Linked DNA regions of Homo sapiens: region 2 is linked to region 1. Evidence: promoter capture Hi-C in human tissues and cell types (Jung and others, 2019). All regions are on one chromosome and are shown on one strand. The core of a region is centred on a gene start or on the middle of the fragment in contact, and the rest is flanking DNA. Distances in the headings are between cores, read along the strand shown. Region 1 holds the start of ALG10B (ALG10 alpha-1,2-glucosyltransferase B). Region 2 overlaps LINC02406 (long intergenic non-protein coding RNA 2406).

Region 1 (4,075 bases), core at 1,460-3,959:
CAGTTACAGCCTTTGGGGAAATTCACTGTTCAGATATGGCTGTTTCAAACAGTTAAGTATATGCTATGTTGTCTGAGTTCATCAAATTAGGAATGTCTTAATTGATCAAAGTCAGCTAGGTTATACCAGAGAAATAAAGTCAAAATCTTAATGGCTTATAAACCAAAAAAGATGTATTTCTTGCTAAAACAACCTATCCTTAGAACCCCAACAGAAATTGCCCATTTTTCTGCCGTAACTTATTTATCATAATTCAAGTAGCACAAATAAATAGTTGATGTGCAATTATAATGGGATTGCTCATCCTAATGACTCTTTTTCACAAACATCTATGGAAAATGGCAGTTGGAATTCTGAATGGAAAATATAAGTTGAAATCAATGCTGATCTAGTTTTAAATGATAGGTCTAATAAAATGTAGTCTATTTCATTAAAACCCCAGAGGTAGCTATTTTACTAGGTCTTGATTTAGGAGCAGAGCTTTGGAAAGCATTTCAAGATTATCAAAGATGCTGTAATCTAAGAGTAGAAAAGTGACAACAGCTTCATCGATTTGCAGATAGTAAAAGTAACTCACTAACAAATGAGTGAAGTACTCTATGAAGAACTCTACTGGGCCCATGGAGCTTCTTAGCATTCTTAGGTAATATGTTTTACATCAATCGTTTCCAAATATGAAGATCAGTATTCAGTGATTTGAGATGGCTCTCTAGAATCTAGTTTTTCACAATGATCCCCCAGCAGATTTTGATGTAATTAGTCTGTAAGACGAACATTTTTTTAAAAGATGAAACTTGTATTTCAAATTGGTGTATGGAAACAGAGAATAGTGGAATGTAAATGTAAAGTTATTGGGACTAGTGAAACATTCAATTCAGTATATATTGTAGATTATTTTAACCTATAAGGCTGTGAAGTTATTTTATTACTCTTGGTCTGATGTTCTAATTCCTACACTTGGTTCTGACACTAATTTTTTATGTAATTTTAGGTAAATTATTCATTTTTTAAAAATCAGCTTCTTTTATAAAATGAAGTCAAGTAGATTATTAATAAAGATCCCTAGCCATCCTAAAACCCTATATTTCCTTGAAACTTTCCATTTTATGTAAAGCGATGTGTGCAGCATGTATAGGAGTCAAATGTTTAACATAAACTATTGGTGGCAATTGTTATGAAGAAAAATGGAGAGCATAAATGTCTAGTCTTGTTCTACTCCCTTTAAAAACGGCCCACTATTTCTAGGGTGGGTCAGTAAGCTGCAGAGTATATATAACACGATTTAGCAGGTCAATAGGTCAGGGGCTAATTACTCGTAGATCACATCAACCTCTTGAAGACTGAATCATCTGGAGATGTGTTACAAGTGACTTAAACAGATAAGTACAGCATGGAATCAATAATAAAATGGGAGATGATGGTTAAAGCAAAGCTAAGCATCACATCAGAGTAGAATCCTGACATGATTTTATTCCAGTAATGTAAATATTCCCGTCCCAGCCCTCATTCACCACTACCTCCTCTTATCATTGAGGAAACAGGCAGAGACAGACTGGAAAGGCAGTCAGCTTGATTTAAGAAACTTTCTTAAGTTCAGAAATACTGAATTATTTTTAACCCAGAAAAAGAGCTCAATTGAGAACTCTGAGGTTTGCAACCTTAAATCCCGACTCAATCTGATATATGCCTGCCAAAGGCAACCTGACTGAGGTTACCTGAGAGAAAGTTTTTCTACAAAACATGGCCAACCATGCTCAAGACAAAATTCCAACACATAATTTATCTTCGGCATTCTTCAAATTATTTACCACATCTCCTGCCCCCAACACCTAATCCCAGAATACAGGAATTTGATGATGTCTACACAGCCTATAAAAGTCCACAAATTTAAGTGCCTACTGTGTGAAAGCCATTTGGGGGACTACAAACATAAAGGATGTATAATGCCACCCACTAAGATGTTCACGCTTATGATTTAGTAGGAAAAACAGAAGGCTGCCTTATAAATATTAACAACCTAATTTACAGGCACACCTAAAACATCCCAAATTCTAAAATATATATTTTCTTCCAAATCCTACAGGGTAATATGGCTATGAGAGTGCACTAGGAGTGTCAATTTTACTAAATCCTCTGAGAGCATCCACATTTTGAAAGAGTTCTCTCTTAACCTAAACAAACAAACAAACGAACAAACACTCCTCTCACTGAAGTTCATTCGGCATTGACGGGTCTCTGGTTCTTCAAGTTTTCATCTGAAAGTCTCAGTCTTTGCTATCACAACCAACGCCCCCTTCCTACACTCCAAGGTTGATGGAATGAAATGTCTTGGAATTGAGGGTTTAATTAATTCGGATCACTGGAGAGAAAGAAAAGAAATAACGGGGGAAAAAAATGTGTTAATTTTAGGGCTTGGAATTGGAAACGTGGGGAAACGTCGCCACCTTCTGGTAAGTGATGGAAATGAGCAGGAAAAAAGATCCAAGCTAAGAAGCGGCTTTTTTTTTTTTCCAAAGCAGCAAGCCACGCCCCTCCCGCGCTCGCGAAATCCGAGACCCGCCCTTTCCGGAAGTTTTGACACTGTGCGCCCCGAGTAATGTGATGGAGAGGGTAATCATCCGGTCCGTTATCTAAACCCGTCACTCCAGGAAACAGCGACCCGCTGTTTTCCGGATCCGCGCTCTCCCAGCATCCTTTGCCTTCCGGTATGTGGCCCCGTCTGGCTAGTCCTGTCTAGCGCGCCCATTTCGAGCCCAAGTTTCCAGCTCGGGTTTCCGGGCTCAGAATTTTCCAGGAGTGGGTTCTTGGGCAGTGGCTGTGGGAGCAGGAATGGCGCAGCTAGAGGGTTACTGTTTCTCGGCCGCCTTGAGCTGTACCTTTTTAGTGTCCTGCCTCCTCTTCTCCGCCTTCAGCCGGGCGCTGCGAGAGCCCTACATGGACGAGATCTTCCACCTGCCTCAGGCGCAGCGCTACTGTGAGGGCCATTTCTCCCTTTCCCAGGTGGGGTGCCCAACCTGTCCCCACCCCAGGAGAGGCCTGAAAGGTCCCAGCGTCCCCAGCTCCTTCTCCCATCTTTAGACTTAACTCGTCCCTTTCCACCCCACCCCAGCCTCAGAACATGAAAGAAACTGGGTATAGTCTTTTGTTCCTGTCTCTGAGATCTGTGAAATATTTATTAAATGAATGAATAAACAGCAGATCTGATCCCCAGGGAGGAGTGATCTGGGAGAATACTTAGTGGGGAACTGAGCGCTCCTCTTGGCAGCTGACAATATCGATCCCACTTTGTTTTTCCTTGTCTCAGGATTAAAGGCATTCGGGTGCTCCTTGGAAATATCAGAAAACTTCCCTTTAGCTCACCTGTTAAGCACCTCACTGTGCATTTTAGGGGTGGGATAGGGTGGACTGGAGGGATCTTCGGCTACCAAAAAGTGACAATTTATAATCACAAATTCCTTCCCTGGGTATTTTTAGTGAACTATCTGTTGACTGGATAAACTGGCAACCAGTCAAGTCACATCATTTTTGAATATATATTTGACTGTGCAAGTATGTACATATAAATATCAAAATAAACATCCCCTGCTTTTCTGGTGACACAATATAGGGTACTGGCTAGAAATATAAAGTCTGTTTTAGAGAAAGATCTGATCTTAAATCTTGGTGCTGTGATTTACTAGTTTTGTGATCTTGGAGATGTTCTGAGTTTCAGAAATTCAGGTTACTCATCTGCAAAATGACAATAATCTTTACTATAGGGCATATTGTAATGTTACAATACAGAGGGTTTGGCACAATTTCTGTCTCAGTTTATGTCAGCTGTCATCATGGAGCCTGTGGTCCAAATGTTTTCCTAAACTTAGAGTCCCAAACAATGTTTCCATGCTTTTAAAAACTGGAGCATTTGCAGTTTATTTATCAAAATAAAGGCTTTTAAAGAACATTTCTTGGAAAATAGAAATAGATTTTAAGTTGTTGTTTATTGGTTGCTGCTACCTGAACCATCACTAAGCTGGTCCGGGGGCAAAAAATAAGAAAAACTAATCCTGTTCTGCCAAGGACTTACTTAATCTTG
Region 2 (3,617 bases), core at 75-2,574, 800 kb after region 1:
AAGAATATGTCTAGTTAGCTTAATTGAAGTCTTTCGTCAACATCCTAGAAAGGTGTATGTGAGCACTCACTGGCAAAAGGACAGCCTAACTTAAACCATGTGACTGACCTAAGAATGGGGGAGGGGTGGTTTTCCAAAGAGAGTGGGCAGACAGAAACCTGCTCACTTCATAGAGTCTACCCAAGGCTAATAGACTTCAAAACTGACTGATTCATCATGAGAACTTGCTGTTTGTGTATATTATCAAAATAAAGACCCAATAAAATAGGTAAAAGTTATATAGCATTTGTCAATATGTCAGATAGCATTCTAAGAGTTTACTTATAGTAACCCATTTAATCTTTCCAACAACAAGAGGTAAATTTTCATTTTTCAGATGAGAAAATTAAGGCACAAATACATTAAGTAAAGTGGCAAAACTAGGATTTGAATCCAGGAGTCTGGCTCTAGAATTCGTGCCTTTAACCATTATGCCATTTATTATTCCTTCTCTGAGGTTGAGAGGAAACATTAAGATGAAGTAATGAAAGGTGAAATTTAGCTTATCTGATTAACAGCTGTGCTGGTTATCTGCAGTTGCCACTCCAGATAGTGGTCTCCACTTACTAGCCCTCTCTGTCTTGGGTTCTCCCACTGCTCCCTCCCATCGCTACTGCAAGCATGGAAGTAATATCTTCTTAACTGTACTAAACTCAAAGTGTTTCACTATCCCTTGTTGATGCTCCTAATTTTGTCTCAAAGCTTTGTAGAGTCCTTCTATTAAGTTCATCAATAGTAAGCATGGTGGTGCCATCTCTTTCTTGCTTATTTCCAGGCTGATACAATAGACACAATTCTGTTATTAGTTATTTGAATTTGAAAGAGGATATCCATCACAGAGCTCAAAAATAGCTTTTCTCCTTGAATGGAAAGATATATCATTTTTATACACAATGGGAAAAAGCTAATTTTACAAATCTAAAGCAGAAGCCTTTTACAAGAATCATCTCACTATTTTTGGATGGGCTTTTTGGGGTTAACAAACATTTTTTTTTCAATATACAGCCCTCCCTTTGATGGAGTTGTCACGTTTACAAATTAATTTAAATTATATTAACCATAGCATACCTAGACTTCTGACACTAATATTTTAATGGTCATATAAAGGAATTACATTGATTCTTCTAAATTTTGTGATTTGGCAAACTACAATGGACAAAGACATTGTCTAAGCCTAATTTGAGGAACTTACTTAAAGCAGTTGGTCATAAACAATTATCAGGTTATATAGCAGAGAGAGCTAACTACCCAGCAAATATTTGTGCTGCCCTTCCACATGGTTATTGGTTATCGAAGGTAGTTATTGAAGGCATCTTCCTGACCAGAGACTACATTTTCTTTTCAGCCCTCTGACATGTGAGTGGAGTCATATGACTGAGTGGGGTTGTACCTTAGCCTACATATTCCACACATGATACCTATTACATAAATGAAAGAATTTCTAAGTAAAGTACAAGTCTCTTAACAGTAACATAACCACTCCTGAAGATGGGGTATAAATGTGGATTCAGGGCCTGCCATAGATGCTCTTCTAGCACACTGTACTTATCCAACCACAATGCTTATGAGGCTGTATCACAATGGTTTAAGTACTATTTTCCATCCTAGCCTGGAAGGAAAGCAAACACTGTTCTATAGTGTTCATCATTGTTCTTCCCCAAGACCTAACATAACACCTGGTGTATAGGAGTCACTCAATAACTATTGGCTGAATTTTTGAATTACATTTCTATGAATAGAAACACTACAGACATATCTTCCTACCAAGAGAGTGAGAAGTCAGAGGGATATGCACATATCTTTCCCTAAAATGTATCTTTATGGTTTCTCCTCTTAAAAGAGATATAGAAAATAAGGCTATCAGCCCATTGTCCAATATGTTAAGTACTCAACAAACACTTGGAATAAAGGAAGAATGAATGTGCAAATATTCCGGCCTCTATTTTCTAACAGCACTCTCCTTTAACATGTTTTGCAATGGAGATGCAAATTTTACTCACAACACACTCTAGTGTGAAAATAAAATGATGAGGTTGTGTGGCATTGGCCTTTGGCCTTGAAGTTCCCACTTCTTGTGGTCTGGGGCCTCCACTGCTCTCCTCATCCTCTCAGCACTTTTGCATCTATTCTACTGGAATAAAAAGGCATTTCTCAATCCCAGGCATTTCATTTGCAGGCCATAGGGAGCCAAGAGTATAGCCTCAGGCTCATATATTTAGTCTCTCTCCTCCTCAAATCCACACTCTCCCTCCATTAATGTTGGATGTGGCACTGAGCCAAGTGCATCAATTCTCCTGTAGGCCTGCAGCCTCCCTCAGGCTGTGCCTAGGAAAGCGTAGCATGATTTCCAGCATTCTTGATTTTCCGATATGTATTTGAAGTTTCTGCCACATCAAACTCATTCAAAGCTGGACCTGTGAAAGAGAAAATGCTGACATGAGATCTGTCCTCTTGCCCTCTCACTCCTCTAATGGAAAAGAAAAGCTTTTCTGTCTCACAAGAATATACTGAGTTTTCTCTTTGTGTTTCTTTCTGAGCTTACTTTTCTCCTAGACTCATTTTCGGCACTGTTACAGTAGGCAGCTAGTTAGACACAAACAGGGCAGGAGAGGGCTCCCCGCAACCCCCAACCCCCAACCAGGAATGTCAGGAAACCATCAGGTGATGGTCTGGTGGTTGTTAACTGTTTCTCTAAAAGAATAATAGGTAGCAGCCAGCACCAGGGAAAGGCAGGCTCCCAATACATAGGAAAAGCCTGAAACTGGTGATCAGTAGCTTCCCGATAAGATCTGAGGAGTTGGGTGAGTGGGCTCACACAGGCACACTAAGAGGAAAAATGGCAGAGGTTAAGTGGTATATGATGCCTTAGGGATATTTGACTGGTAAGGGAAGAACACCTCAGGTGAGCATGCATACGACTCTAGTAAACACACTTTGCATGCTCCCCTCCCAAGTGCTGGCAGGCCCACTTGCACTTATGGACAGCCCTTCCCTTGGGGGAAGAATCAGGGGAGAAGGGATGCAAGACCCTGGAAGTATGCCAGCATATAAAACCCCAACTCAATAGGTCCAACTGTTCACTTGATCTCTCAAGTCACCTGCTTGGTCCTCTTCCAAGTATACTTTCATTTCTTTTGTTCCTGCTCTAAAAATTTTTAATAAACTTTCACTCCTGCTCTAAAACTTGCCTCAGTCTCTCCTTCTGCCTTCTGCCTCCTCTAATGAATTTTAGGAGCCAAGAATTGAGGTGTCTGTAAACCCTTGTGTATTCACCACCACTAACATACTTTGGTGCCCTGTTTCAGATATGTTCCAACACTAACAGCACCATTGCTCGGGAGAATTTTGAAAAACCAAGGTGGGCCGGGCACGGTGGCTCACGCCTGTAATCCCAACACTTTGGGAGGCTGAGGCAGGTGGATAACGAGGTCAGGAGTTCAAGACCAGCCTGGCCAAGATGGTGAAACCCTGTCTCTACTAAAACTACAAAAATTAGCCAGGCGCGGTGGCAGGCACCTGTGATCCCAGCTACTCGGGAGGCTGCGACAGGAGAATTGCTTGAACCCGGGCGGCAGAAG

The links. Contacts are between HindIII fragments. The study calls those that stand out against the background at their distance.
Region 2: a contact is called between a fragment that was not itself captured here and the fragment with the promoter of ALG10B in region 1, in 1 of the 25 tissues and cell types used here (lymphoblastoid cells).

The regions. Positions count from the first base shown.
Region 1 is chr12:38,314,065-38,318,139 of GRCh38, forward strand. It overlaps ALG10B (ALG10 alpha-1,2-glucosyltransferase B), which reads left to right and starts at 2,710. Exons shown (of 3, transcript NM_001013620.4): 1 at 2,710-3,000. The coding sequence starts at 2,830. RefSeq lists an enhancer at 1,781-2,980. The HindIII fragment of the contact is 10,698 bases long and covers 1-4,075 here.
Region 2 is chr12:39,114,780-39,118,396 of GRCh38, forward strand. All of the region lies in intron 1 of LINC02406 (long intergenic non-protein coding RNA 2406), which reads right to left. Among named protein-coding and RNA genes, the nearest start is that of LINC02406, 29 kb to the right of the region's middle. The HindIII fragment of the contact is 4,376 bases long and covers 1-3,512 here.